Linked DNA regions of Homo sapiens: region 1 is linked to region 2. The links are contacts of gene promoters, found by promoter capture Hi-C in blood cells and fetal thymus (Javierre and others, 2016). All regions are on one chromosome and are shown on one strand. The core of a region is centred on a gene start or on the middle of the fragment in contact, and the rest is flanking DNA. Distances in the headings are between cores, read along the strand shown.

Region 1 (7,599 bases), core at 2,165-4,664, 380 kb after region 2:
AGCCACACCAATTTGATTACATACTGTCTATGGCTATTTTCAAGGCACAACAACAGAGTTGATTAGTTTCAGCACAGACTGTATGGCCTGCAAAACCTAAAATATTTACTGTGGTTCTTTACAGAAAGTTTGTTGACCCCTATAATATAACATAATACTTATTTATCTTTTTATTGTTTGCCTCTCCTAGTGGAAAATAATGGGGACAGCAGTATTTGTCCATGTGGATAAAGGTTTTTATATATTTTGTTCATTACTATATCCCCAATGCCTAGAACAGTACTTAACACATAGGAGACAATAAATAAATATTTTTGAATGAATGAACACTAAAAAATTGGATTAGAAAGTTTGGCAACAAAAAGAAGGACACAGAACTGAAGTTTGAGGAGGATTACAAAGTTGAAGGAAGGTTTTTGGATAAAGAAGACTTCAAGGTAATTATAGTGACAGGAGAAAGAAACAGTAGGCCGGGCGCGGTGGCTCACGCCTGTAATCCCAGCACTTTGGGAGGCCGAGGCGGGCAGATCATGAGGTCAGGAGTTCGAGACCAGCCTGGCCAAAAAGGTGAAACCCTGTCTCTACTAAAAATATAAAAAATTACCCAGGCGTGGTGGCCCATGCCTGTAATCCCAGCTACTCAGGAGGCTGAGACAGGAGAATTGCTTGAGCTCAGGAGGCGGAGGTTGCAGTGAGCTGAGATAGCACCATTGCACTCCAGCCTGGGCAACAAGAGTGAGACTCTGTCTCAAAAAAAAAAAATAAAAAAGAAACAGTAGAGAATGATTAAACAGCTAGGGTTGAGATCTGTAGAGTAAGGTCCCCAGACAAAGTTACTTCTTTCTCGTAGGTAAGAGAAAAGAAAGGATGGGTGAAGAGGTGAGAAATTGATGAAGTTCATGTCAGTGGCTACAAGCTCAGCAAATCACACGATAAGATCTTTTGCTACAACAAAGGAGAAAGCATGGGTGCTTAAGGACAGAAAAAAAATGTTTTGGAATTATCACTGTGGGGAATGTGATAAAAACTCAACAAGAGTCAGTATTATTGACTACCTAGCTGAAAAACCATGAAATTTTAGCAAACCCAATAAACATGGTTTCATAAATTTTCCCAACAATGCTCAAGCAACTCAAAGGAAGGAGTGAAGAAAGACAATGAAAGCTAACAAAGGTTAGACACTGGCGAGGTGGGATTATTAAAATATGATGGATTGTGTATTTTTTTCACCTTTCTGTCTGTCCTAGTGCATAAGAGGATATTCATTGTATATGGAGGGTATCCAATCAATGTCTGCTAAATTCAAGACAAGGATGAAATGGAGAAATATACTAACAGTAACCAACAAAGTTACCTTGAATATATTCAAAATATCCTTTGGTTTCACCACTAATCTGGCCATAAATGATACAGTTACATATTGAGTACGCACCATTAAAATACACCTGGTTTACTGTTCTCCTATTCTTCCTAACCTCACTATTAATACCATTTGAATTTCCAATTATAAAGTCAGTGCTATACTAGGCTCTAGGACCAAACTTGACATTAGAAGAGATGTAAGTAGCATTGCTTAAGTCTCAGAAAACTGTATCTAGTCAACTTGTATTCCTCTTCTGGTCATTGCTTCCCAGTTTGGCTCCCTATGCAGGGGATCTGCTCTTAAAAACAGCCTCATATCCTGGCCCCTTTAGTTGTGGAGATCTACTTTGCTCTTTCTAGTATGTCTGCACACACTCCTATTCCTCAAAGATTTGTGTACTGTCTCAGAGTCCAAATATCTGTGATTGAAACCCTGTTCCCTGCTGTTATGTTTATGTGATGCCAACCACCTGTGTGCCTGACTTACGGACTATTTCCAACATTTAGATTTCTCTCATTGCCATGCTCTGCTTATCTGCCCATTAGGATACCATGATGTCAGCTGCTTGAGTGAGTTGAAGGCAACTATACTTTGTTCATCTCTGTAACCTCAGAGCCTAGCATAATGTCTGGTACTGTGTTCTTTCTTTCTTTCCTGACTGGCTGATTAGATATCCTCCCTTGGCCTGCAAATGCATCCATTCCCCAACTAGCATGTCTACATCCAGATATAGGTCCTTCCCAAGCTGCCTAGCTCACTGTGTCATAAATCATGGAAGTTATAAAGGCTCTGTGATTGCCTTCTTTATTAGTCTTTAAGTAAACAGTAGGCAACTACCTTTCTGAAATAGTGCTGTCCTGTGCAGAATTAGGTAACAAAATCTACATGATCATCTTCCTTTTAGATCTTAAACTGTAGGTAACTATTTTCTGAAACAGTTAAATGCTAGCCTGTACAACATTATGATGAATTAAGTAACATTTCAAGTTCTCTTCCAGGGCTGTGACTTTATAACATATAAACTAAATAGCAAATATTTTCTTGAAAGAAAATCTAAAGTATTTAAGTCAGATAAACAACTCTTCAAAAATAAACCTTCAAAGAAAACATCTGGAATCATTACCCTTAATCACCTAGGTGAACAAAGGTTAGACCTGTCATTAAAACTTGAAAGGCAACAAAAACCTTCATATTTCATTTGGGTTCACACTTGTCCTTCTAGTTCTTTGTCCTTCTAAGAGCCAATACCCCTCATTACGTGCATACCATATGATAACCAAAGGAAGAAATGTCCTAATTGCTTTGGAAAGTATTTCCGTTCTATCTTTAAACAAGCTTTTATCTTCTTTACCTTCTAGAATTTTGTCCTGATAAGAAATCAGTTAAAGAACATTTTCTAGGGTGGTTGGAAAGGCAAGAGATAACAACCTAGAAAGTGAAAGAATGGCCACTTCATTCAAGTATTTGGTCTCAATGAATGCTTGACAAAAGTGTGTACTTCAAAATTTAGCTTGCTGCAAAGGACAATATTACAGATGGTTAGTAGCAGATAACTTTGTTCAGGAGTTCCAATGATATATTACCTTTCAGAATAGGTGTGAAAAATAAAGGGTAAGTAATAGAATTAATGGTATTCCAAATTCTCTCTTTCTTTGGGAAGTTTCACTCTATGTTTACAGTGTGCAAATCAAGAAAATGTCAATTTGACCTTGTTCTATATGAGGGAACTCTCAGACATCCTAAACTAACAGCCAGGAAGTCACAGCATGGCATCTATCTCTCTGCCACTGCACATAAGAACATTTGCTACCTCTGAAAATAGATAAATCAAAGGACCTTATCAAGTTGTTGCAAATTCAGGTAACAGCAAGCCATGTTCCTCTGCAGCTTGGTGAAGTCCAGATCCATTTCATCAGTTGAATAAAACCTCAGAGAATAATAGTACCATTGTAGGGCATCAGTGTAATTTTGTACCTAAAGTTTAAAAAGAAACAACAAAATCACAGCGATGTCGCTACCCTATCTTTCCCAAGTCACCTCTAGAAACAAATAAAAGATGCTGTTGGTTTCTTTTTTAGGCAATCAAAACACAATATCCTTTATATAGGGTTCTAAGTGCATTTTATTATCAGTCTTGGTCAACATAAGTTTTAGATAAGGTGGCAATCAGTATTCTTTCTTTTTCCTACACATTAGAAATTTCACACATAGGATGAAGAGTCTAAGAGTGTAGTAAACCACCCCAGAAAACTTAAAATCTATTTTAAAAGTTATTAAAACAACAACGACAAAAATTTTAAAAGAGAACACCCATAATTCACCATGCTAATGCAGCTATTTTCATTTATCTATGTTCAATTTTAACTGTATTCTTTTGTATATTTACCTAGTTGTAATCGTAGCTTATATAGAATTTCATGTTCTATTCTTTCCATTTAATTTTGTTTTGTACATATTAATCTATGTTGCTATGTAGTCTTCACAGTAATCAATTTTAGGAGATACATAACATTTAATCAAGTATATAATGATTTTCTTAATGTTAGCTATTTAGTGAATTTGCAGGGTTTTTACTATTGTAATTGATGCTGCTGTATTTGTATATAAAAATACATTTTTCTCTTGAGTAAATTTAAAATTTTCAATGGTAAGAAGCTAGCTAGGGAAAATCTGATAGGAATAACCTGGATAATTATTTCTTAATCTAAGAAAACTGAGACTGCTTATAAACCAAGGTAAGGTAAATGATTCCCTTGTACCCTATCAAGAAGCTTCATATTTTTCAATTAAGAATAGGAGCCATTAGGACCTTCAAGGAATAAAACACCCTCTTCAACTAGAAACAATTATGCTAAATAGGTAAAACACTGCCTTTGACTATTACATTAGTCATAGTAGATTAGAAATATGTCATATTAGAAATAGTCAATTAGAAATAAGATTACATTCCTCTCCAGTGTTGGAAGTGGATGTTTTAAGAAAATTATTCAGCAAGACTGGAAAATGAGAGGAAAGAAAAAGAATCAATAGAAGAATGGGAATTCTGAAGTAGTTCTTCACCTATTCAGTAAAAAAATAAATAAAGGCCTTCTAAAAGAGAATACGAATATCATTCTATCTTGTGGTACCTAACCATAAGACCTAGGTTTCTACATGCTCCTATAAGGGATTCTCTTTCCTTCTCTTGGGTCTAATTCTTTGTTTCTCAGATTTTGTTCCCTTTTTTCTCTTCACATCTTTCTCCTACAAAACCTACCATAACATTTTTTGGAAAACAGTTTTATTGAGGTACAATTGACATATGAAACACTATGAATATTTAAACTGTACAATTGTTTTGATATATATATATATATATATATATATATATACACACACACATAGCTAAAACCATCAACACAGTCAACGGAGTGAACACATCCATCACAACCATTTTTTCTTTGTAATCCCTCAATCCAGTTCATTCTGGTCTCTCATACCCCAAGCAGTTATGGATGTGCTTTCTATAACTTTCTATAACTATTAATTTTTATTTTATAGGCTTTTATACAATGGAATCATCTAATATGTATTAATACTTTTTTGCCTGGCCCCTTTCGCTCAGCAAAACAGTTTCTAGATTTATCCCCATTATTGCATCTATCAATAGTTCATTCCTTTTCATTGCTGAGTAGTATTTCATTGAAGGACATACCAGTTTGTTTATCCACTCACTTGTTGATGGACATTTGGCTGTTTCCAGTTTTTAACTATTATAAATAAAGCTGCTATCAGCTTTTACATGCAAGTTTTTGTATGGATAAATAATTCCTTTTCTCTTGAGTACATACATAGGATTGAAATGGCTGGATCACATGATAGGGGCAAGTTTAACATTTTAGAAAACTGCCAAACTATTTTCCAAACCGTCTGTACTATCTTATATTTCCACCATGAAGTTCCAGTTCCTCAACATCTTCGTCAGCATTTGGTATGGTTAATCTTTTCCATTTTGGCTATTCTAAGAATTATGTATTGGTATCTCCTTGGGGTTTTCGTTTGCATTTCCCTAATGACTCATAAGTCATCTTTTTTGGGTGCTTATTTTCATGCATATATCCCTTTTTGGTGAAATGTCTGTTCATATCCTTTGCTAATTTTTGAATTGTTTTTCTTTGTACATTGAGTTTAGAGAGTTCTTTCTATGTTTTAGCTACTAGCCCATTATTGTATACATGGTCTGAAAATTTTTCTCCCAGTCTCTAGCTTTTTTCATCTATTCAACAGGATCTCTTTTTTTTAAAGTATAATTTTCACTTTATTTTCTTCAGAGGATAGCTTTTTTTTCAGTCCTTAAGGACTCAGCTCCATATGTAGGCTTTGGTGGAGGTTGGTGGGCAGCACCCACAGGTCTAAATCAGGGTTGGGGTGTTTGGTCCTTACCGGCTTCACGAGATTGATTCTGGACTACCTTGCTGTGAATGGTGCAACTCATGCAGTAATGTAGCTTCACAAACAGCTTGGGAAGCACATAGACATCAAAGACACTGGCTTCAGCTATGTCCCTGATAGCTGTGGCCTCTACTATGTTTTGTTGTTTTCTTTGTTTTTAGCTTTTGAGACAGGATCTTGCTCTGTGACCCAGGCTGGAGTGAAGTGGCATGATCACAGCTCACTGCAGCCTTAAACTCCTGGGCTCAAAGGATCCTTCTGCTTCAGCCTCCTGAGTAGCTGGGACTACAGGTGCATGCTACCACACCAGGCTAAATTTTTTATTTTTGTATAGATGGTGCTCCTTTATATTGCCCAGGCTGGTTGGTCCCAAACTCCTAGGCTCGAGCAATCCTCCCGCCTCAGCCTCTCAAAGCACTGGGATTACAGGCAGGAGCCACCACACTTGGCTTTCTACCATATTTTGAATGATAAACTTCTTAACATCCTTGTCTTTAGTCACATATCAAGTGCAGTTCATGCAGGGAATAGGCTGCACATGACCTGGCCTAGATCCTGAAGATTTTCTCCTATGTATTTTTATTGCACATTTTACATCTAATTTTATAATCTATTTAATTTTTGTATAAAATGTGAAGTTAAGGTCAAGGGTTTTTTTTTTTCTATGGATGTCCAATTTCTCCAGCACCATTAGTTGAAAACACCATCTTTTTCCATTGAATTACTTTTGTGCTTTCTCAAAAATCAGTTGAGCATATTTGTGTGGGATTATTTTTTGGTTTTCCATTCTGTTCCATTGATCTATGGATCTATGTCTCTAATGATACCACACAGTCTAGATTACTGTAGCTATATAAAAAGTGTTGAAATTGAATAGGGTAATTCTTTCTGTTCTATTCTCTCTCAGGTTGTTTTGGCTATTTTCTTTTTATAATTTTTATTTTAGGTTTAGGGGTACAGGTGAAGGTTTGTTACATAGGTAAACACATGTCACAGGGGTTTGTTGTACATATTATTGCATCACCCAGATATTAAGCCTAGTACCCAATAGTTATCTTTTCTGCTCCTCTCCCTTCTCTCATCCTCCACCCTCAAGTAGACACCAGTGTCTGTTGTTTCCTTCTTTGTGTTCATAAGTTCTTATCATTTAACTCCCACTTATAAGTGAAAACATGCATTATTTGGCTTTCTGATCCTGTGTTAGTTTTCTCAGGACGATAGCTTCCAGCTCCATCAATGTTCCCGCAAAAGACATGATCTTTTCTTTTTTATGGCTGCATAATATTCTATGGTGTATATGTACCACATTTTCTTTATTCAGTCTGTCATTGATGGGCATTTAGGTTGAGTCCATGTCTTTCCTATTGTGAATAGTGCTGCAATGAACATTTGCATGTATGTGTCTTTATGATAGAATGATTTTTATTCCTCTGGGTATATATCCAGTAATGGGATTGCTGGGCCAAATGGTATTCTGCTTTTAGTTCTTTCAGAAATAGCCATACTGCTTTCCACAGTGGTTGAACTAATTTACACTCCCACCAACAGTATATAAGTGTTCCTTTTTCTCTACAACCTTGCCAGCATCTATTATTTTTTGACTTTTTAATAATGTATCTTGGCTATTTTCATTCCATTGTTTTATATATAAATTTTAGAACAATCTTGTCTCTCTATATTTTTCTGATGCTTTTGTTTATAACCAATTTGTATCTTTATGTTTAAAGTACATTTCTTTTAAGCAGTACATAAACTTGGGTCTTGCTCTTTTATCCAGTTTGACAATCTCTGCCTTTTCACTGGGG
Region 2 (7,231 bases), core at 2,397-4,896:
TTATGTTCCAGATCAAAGAATGTGGGAAAGGAGAAGAGAGAATTATATTACTACTGTCCCCTGCAGAGAAATGCTCAAAGCTCCTAGGGGAACGGGCAGTTTCTTTCAGTGCCCCTCACTCTATGCCATTTCTTAGTTATACTGTGGTTAAAGTTCCTTGGCCTTGCTAATGTTCTGGTCAGACATCACAGGTAGTTGCGAGGAAGGTATAGTATTGCTCTGTTCCTTCCAGTGGCTCCTCTCTTTGGAAGAGCTTTTTCTTCCCTCGATAGCATTTTACATCCAATCGGTAACATTCAAAAGTCACACCAATATTTCTTCAGCATTGTGTTTTACTTTTTGGGAGAGAGGCTAGGAGGAGGAAGGGGTGAAAACAGCGTCTCACTGGAGTCTCAAAAGTGTATGAATCTTCTGGTAGTGCAAGGATGGGATAAGATGGCCAGGGAAGTCAGATGGAAAATCCCCAAGATTCTTTTTGCTACTGATTTCTATAATTAAAATATGACATATGTAAGGGACTAGTGCATGATATTCAATAAATGTCAGTTGTCTTTCCTAACTAGGTTCCTCACAGGCTAGGTTATGCCTAGATATCATCATCCTCCTTTCAGGGAATGAAGCTCACCTAGAAAACTAGGGAACTAAAAGTGCAATATGGTTTGGGTAATGCAGTTGGTTAGCTGTCTCCCCATCCTCCCAACTCACTATTCCAGGGAGGGGCTGAAAACAGAAGTGGCTCCCCTGAAGTCTAGTTAGCATGTCATGACAGAGTCCACATGAAGGGCTGTGGGCTGCAACTTTCTAGTGCACAGTCCTCTCTTTTTGGCGATGATAATCTGAAGGAAAGAAGAAGAAAAGGAGGAACAGAGCAGGTTATCTTCACGCTTGAGCTCCTGATTCCCTATCCCCAACTTGTAGGGCCTCTAGTCATCAGTATTTAAAGAGTTCTTACTTAGGGCCCTGTCAGGAAAGTGAAAAAAGAAAGTGGCACTTACTGTAGGGAAAGAAGCGCACACGCATGCTGATTTCACGAGCTGTCTTCAGGATCTCAACAGCCTGGAAGGAACACAGCAGCTTGTACAAATGAAGAGATATGACCCAAGACAGAATCATAATAGGGGGAAAGGGATTTGCCACTCCAACCTGTGTGTCACTAATAGCTGCTTCCCTCCTGTACTTTCCCAGGAGAGGTGCTTACTTTCTCTCTCTCTTTTTGTTTGTTTGTTTGTTTGTTTTGAGACAGGGTCTTGCTGCGTTGCCTGGGCTGGTCTTAAATTCCTGGGCTCAAGTGATCCTCCCGCCTCAGCCTCCTAAGTAGCTGGGATTACAGGCGTGTACCACAGTGCCCAGCAAAATGCTTTCTTATTAAGTTACAGATTAGGCTACTCCTGTCCAATCTGTCCTATTTGAGATGGCTTCTTGCAGCACCACAGCCCAAGTACTGTGCTCACCTTGCTGTGCTCAATATCTTGGAAATCCACATCATTCACAGCTAGAACTTGGTCCCCTTCCTGCAGTCCTGCTCTATGTGCATCAGAGTCAGGAATCACCTGTTGGTAAAGAGAGAATACATGTGATTGGGATGCGATAATTTCAGAAGACTGTCAGTGAAATTCGGTGCTATTCAAATGTATGGTGCTATTGTTTTTCTGTGACAATGTATGCAGACAGATGGCCTGCCAAATGAAAAGTTTTAAGTGGGAAAGGGGGTGTCTCCATTATACCCCTTCTATGAATCCAGAGTCATCCTCTCAGCCCTTGGGACATTAGGGTTCTGCAATCTGTTAATTTAACAAAGGGAAGTAACGATCCATATTGCCTACTGGGCATAAATACCTTGGAGATGAAGATGCCTAGCTGGGAGGCCTTTCCTCCTCGGATGTTAAATCCCAACTGTAAGACAAGAGCACAGAATGGGGGCTCAATGGAGACCACAAACACAAGAACAACTAGTAGCATCATCGTACAATAGCTCAGCTTGTGTGTCCCTGAGAGGAAAGTCAGAAGTTGCAGAAGTGTTATCTCAGCTTTTCTGTCCACAAGAAGGAAAGTTTCCTCACATCTGCACCTGCTTTCCAATCCATCCCCCCAACACTGCCAATTTGTGGTATGGATGAATCTAGCCTGAAATAAGGTTTCATAAGTTCACCTGAGCTCCAGGAGGCTTCTTCAGTGTGATGGTTCGGGGCAGAAACTGGGTCAACTCATTGTTGTAGTCCGGGTGGTGTACCCTCTGCAAGACACAGCAACCCCAGAAATTTTACCAGTCTTACTTCACACCTACCTTCATCTGAAACACTAATGAATTACCCTGAAGTCAGGAAAAGGAAAGGTCATAGACTTAATTTAAGTAGAACAGATAACACAGACTAAATGAGTAGATGGATAGCACTGGGGCAGCCCAGTAGCTCCCCATTTCTTCACCTTTTTTTTTTTTTTTTGAGATGGAGTTTTGCTCTTGTTGCCCAGGCTGGAGTGCAATGGCTCAATCTCAGCTCACCGCAACCTCTGCCTCCCAGGTTCAAGCAATTCTCCCGCCTCAGCCTCCCTAGTAGCTGGGATTACAGGCATGTGCCACCACGCCCGGCTAATTTTGTATTTTTAGTAGAGACGCGGTTTCTCCATGTTGGTCAGGCTGGTCTCGAACTCCCAACCTCAGGTGATCCGCCTGTTTCGGCCTCCCAAAGTGCTGGGATTACAGGCATGAGCCACCGCGCTGAACCTCTTAACAGTATGGAAATGAAGGCTCCAAATTTCCAGAATTAACCGGTGTGAACAGACCCTAGCAGGAGGCTTCCATAAAGAAGTTCCCAATGGGTCCTGTTGCTCAGAATCCAGCTTCTGGGTCCTCTGGCTACAAGTGCTAAGATTCACTCTCCGTTTCGCCTTCTAACCCTGCTATCCTACCTTTCATGCATCATCTCATGCCCACGGGGAAAAAAATCTCCTACTCAGGAATACAGATGGTTCCCACCTCATGAGGAGGAATCCATGCTGGAGGATTCTCATAGGCAGGCAAGAAAACCACCGGGTAGTCATCATAAGGAATCCGGCTGTCCATCTCGGGCAAGGCCCTGGAAGAGTGAATCAGAACAGACAAAAAGTGGTTCAAAAGGGAGAGCAGCCCAGCAAGTTTCAGACAGCAGCTCCAACCCATTCCAAGGCAGTCAGTCTACAGGCCCAGCCCATATCTAGGTGTTAAGGTTGGAGGAGAGAAGGAAGACAGAAGAAAACTCTTAACTTAGCTAAACATCTTCTGGATGCCAAGCAACCTGTCAGGTACTCTAGAAAGAGGACCTCATTTTTCACAATCCTGCAAAACAGATGTTACCGTCTCAAACCTGGAGAAGAGGAAATCAGGGTCGAGTCTAAAAAGATCTACTTTCGAAGCCCAAGGGAGTGTTAACTATCCGCAGGGACTCGGGGCAAGGCACCGCCCCACATTTCCTAGATGTGATTAGTAATGGTAGGGTCCTTAGATCGACCCTTCCTTCACCTGACCAGCCACCTCCCACGTCCCCGCCCCACATTCTGCCTGAGACCCGCACTCTCAGCCGCATAAACGCCGCACCACCTCACCAGTGGGCAGTCCACAGCGACCTCAGACTCCGCTCACTGACAATTCAGTCTGGGAACCGGAAGCGGATGCTCCGCAGGGTCGAAAAGAGGCCGGGCCAGGGTGCAACGAGCTGACCCTCCCCTTCCCACCGCGCCGGCCTGCGCGCGCCGACGTGCGCGCTCCGCCCTCGGGCAGTCCGCACTGCAATTGGTTGGCGTCTCCGGGACGGATTTGAAACTTGGCGGTTAAAGCTCCGGCTGGGACAGGGCGGCGGGAGGCCCAGGGAGAACGGGGAAGGGACATTTAGTTTGGTGAGTTACGGGGGCACACCTTAGCTCAGAACCTGTTTTTACCCAGTACCCTAGGGCTTTGGTTCTTTGTCGCCGTCCCCGTTGGAGTTTTTTCTTTGCCTTTCAGAAGCCCGTGCACTCTCTTTAGAGTGCAGGGCTGACGGGCGGTCCAGCCCTGGCCAAGTCATGGAGCGTGAATCTCCCAAGTCAGTGTTCCCGCTGAGGAGGGTCGGAACCGGGGAGGACGCCCTCCCACCCCTGCTGACCTACTAACATTCATCAGCGAGCCTTCTTTTTCCCCCTCGCAGAGACGGTGCTGAGATAGGATCATGAAGGAAGAGGTGAAGGGAATTCCCGTAAGAGTGGCGCTGCGTTGTCGCCCTCTGGTCCCCAAAGAGATTAGCGAGGGCTGCCAGATGTGCCTTTCCTTCGTGCCCGGAGAGCCTCAGGTGCGTAGCAGAGTCCAGAGCCTGTGTCTGAACAGCTGGGGCCAAATGGTAACGAGGGGTGTGGTCTTGCCTTTCATTTTTAACCTTACGCCTTGTCCCGTGCCTTCTCTAGGTGGTGGTTGGTACAGATAAATCCTTCACCTACGATTTTGTATTTGATCCCTCTACTGAACAGGAAGAAGTCTTCAATACAGCAGTAGCGCCACTCATAAAAGGTGTATTTAAAGGTAAGGCGATTTGATTCCTCGAACGTAACATATATATTCCTTGAGCATATACTATGTGCCAAGCACTGTGCTTGGGCACTGCAAATACAGGAATCGATGAATCATGATTCCTGCCTTCAAGAAGCCCTTAGCCTAATAACATTTGTCAACGTCTCTGTACCCTTGAAGCTAGTTTTATTCTGTATTTGCTTTATGTGGTTCTGTTCATCTTTGACTTGTATATGTTTGTTTATCCTGGAACTTCATTAGATTATAAACTCTGTGGTGGTTGCTGATGGTGATAAGTGTGCCAACCTACTTGAGGCCCAGGCACTGCAAAGCTTGTTGAGGGATTCAGGTGATAAATAATATAGCTTCGAGGCCCTGAAGGAGTTCAAAGTCCAGGGGATAGGAATGGAGATAGATGACTACATAAATAATTTTGAATATATAAAAATTTTTAAATTTTTTGTACCTATCTTTTAGAAGAAAAATTTTTCAAGTTAAAAATATACAACAGAGTCAGTCCTATGGAAGTAGTAGCTCTGCTCTCATACAAAGTGGTATGAAAAACAAAAGGATGGCTCTAACTCTGCTTGGGGAATTTGGGGTGAATTTCACAGAGTGGGAAAACTTTGAGATGGGTCTTGAATAATGAGTATACTTCTTTTAGGTGGAGAAGGGGAGTGCCTAAAGCCTCTGAATACTATCACCAGTTAATAATCTTTACTGGGGAAGCTAAGTCTTTAATGCTGTTGAGGACCATAGCAGGGTTCTAAAGAAGGGAGCAGTGCCTGAGAGATGTCTAATTATTATTCTAATACAGTGGTTATTCAAGATTCAAAACAGAGGTTCGTTTAAAAGAAGTAGAATCATGGCATGCTAGTGCCTTAAAGTTGAAAGAGACATTTGTATATCATCTAGTTTGTTTTTCATCCAAAGAAAAATGCGTTCTAACAATATCTGTTAGGTGAACTGCCAGTGTCTAAAATTTTTTTGACAGGGAACTCACTGACTCACAGGTAGTCCAGTTGAGATTTGGGTTTTGGACAAGTCTAATTATGTTATAAAGATCTTTATAATGAGATGAAATTTGCTTCCTGGTAATTTCTACCCAGTGATGTTAGTTCATTCCTTTAGAAGCCTTCTTCTAGGCAACAGCTATTCACATATTTTTTCACGTTTTTTTGTTTAATGATATGGCTCAAGGAACACTGAAATTTTTGTTTCAAAATTTTAAGATATTAATGCAATAATTTCAAACGTATAGAATGTTGCAAGAACAGCATAAAAAACATTTTTTCCCTGAACCATTTGAGATGAATCATTGGCCTGATAACCCCCCATACTTTAGTGTATATTTCCTACAAAAAAGGACTTTCTTCTAAGTTACCACAATACAACCATCAAAACAATAAAATTTGCACTGCTACATTACTACCATCTATTCCTGAAACCCCATTCAAGTTTCACCAATTGTCCCAGTAAATATTTTATGGCAAAAAGATCTAGTTCAAAATCACGTTTTATTTAGTTTTGCTGTCTCTTTAGTCTCCATTCTAAAACAGTTCTTTAGTCTTTTTTTGACTTTTATGAGTTTGACACTTTGAAGATTACAGGCCAGTTATTTTGTAAACCTTTTCTCAATATTGTTTTGTCTGGCATTTACTTATGATTAGATTCAGGTTGTGTATCTTTTAGCAGGAATATCACAGAAGTGGTGCTGTTTTCTTCTCACTGAAGCCTATTGGGCAGCACATGATTTTGATTTATTCTATTACTACTGATGTTCATTTTGATCATTTGATTAAGGTGTTAATCTGCTGGGCTTCTCCACTATAATCTTTTTCCTTTTTACATACAGTATTTGGAAAACCGTTAAGTGTTTCTACCTAATTCTCTTCAATTATCCCCGCCTTTCCTTTAGCCATTCCTGAAACAATATGCTTTTCAGACCCTGCACTATCTGGTCAGATTCCTCAGGCTATACCTCCACAGCTTAGTAAGAGCACCACAGTTCTACTTTTACATTCTTAACTTGGGAAACTGATAGAATTAAATTATGTTCTTTAAAGGCAACATAAAGTAGAAAGTGATTCCAATATACATGTGTTTGCTTAACATTACCCTTGGTTGCAAAAACAAAGTCAATATTTTTTATAGTCAGCTCAACAGCACCCTCTTGTACTCTGAACTCCTGGTACCACAGAGCCCTAAGTATTTTGTAAAAACTACTAAAACCTCATTTCCCAAGTTATTGCTATCTGCACATATCTGTGGTATTGCAGAAAATTATGGAATGTTATTCTCTTGCCCCATAGTCATGCCAGCTGATACCAGCGGTCTATTACAGTGAAAATCTCAATTTAGCATCTTCTTATGATCCTTCATTTAGACCAACAAGTTTTTTCAAAACTTCAAAGTTTTCATTTAGATTAAAACGTTGTTTCAAAGTTTAAAGGGTTTTTTCCTTCAGACTGCAAAATTATCTTGGTAAATAGCAGATAACAGCTTTGACATAAATATGATGATCATTTAACAGAGAAAGCTTGCTTTGTGTTCCTTGACAACATGTCTGCCACACTAATAAGGAACAGACTTCCCTAAGGTCATTATTTTTTTCACCTTGAAGTAAATTTGCATTTGTAGTTCCTTTTAGGTGCCATGCTTATAGTTTTAGAAGCTACTACTGTACAATTAAGTAGCAAGTTATAATTATGCATCAGT

What was found. Contacts are between HindIII fragments. The CHiCAGO score rates a contact against its expected background, and 5 or more counts as called.
Region 1: a contact is called between a fragment that was not itself captured here and the fragment with the promoter of PDZD11 in region 2, in 1 of 17 cell types (M2 macrophages). The highest score is 6.5, in M2 macrophages.

Annotation. Positions count from the first base shown.
Region 1 is chrX:70,667,178-70,674,776 of GRCh38, forward strand. TEX11 (testis expressed 11) reads right to left here. Exons shown (of 30, transcript NM_031276.3): 16 at 3,200-3,337. Among named protein-coding and RNA genes, the nearest start is that of SNORD3E, 180 kb to the right of the region's middle. The HindIII fragment of the contact is 1,436 bases long and covers 2,697-4,132 here.
Region 2 is chrX:70,286,281-70,293,511 of GRCh38, forward strand. PDZD11 (PDZ domain containing 11) reads right to left here and starts at 3,647. Exons shown (of 7, transcript NM_016484.5): 1 at 3,580-3,647; 2 at 2,975-3,074; 3 at 2,150-2,233; 4 at 1,837-1,893; 5 at 1,452-1,550; 6 at 996-1,056; 7 at 315-836. The coding sequence starts at 3,061. The coding sequence ends at 802. KIF4A (kinesin family member 4A) reads left to right here and starts at 3,824. Exons shown (of 31, transcript NM_012310.5): 1 at 3,824-3,870; 2 at 4,158-4,298; 3 at 4,411-4,525. The coding sequence starts at 4,179. RefSeq lists a silencer at 3,625-3,804. The HindIII fragment of the contact is 6,290 bases long and covers 1-4,843 here.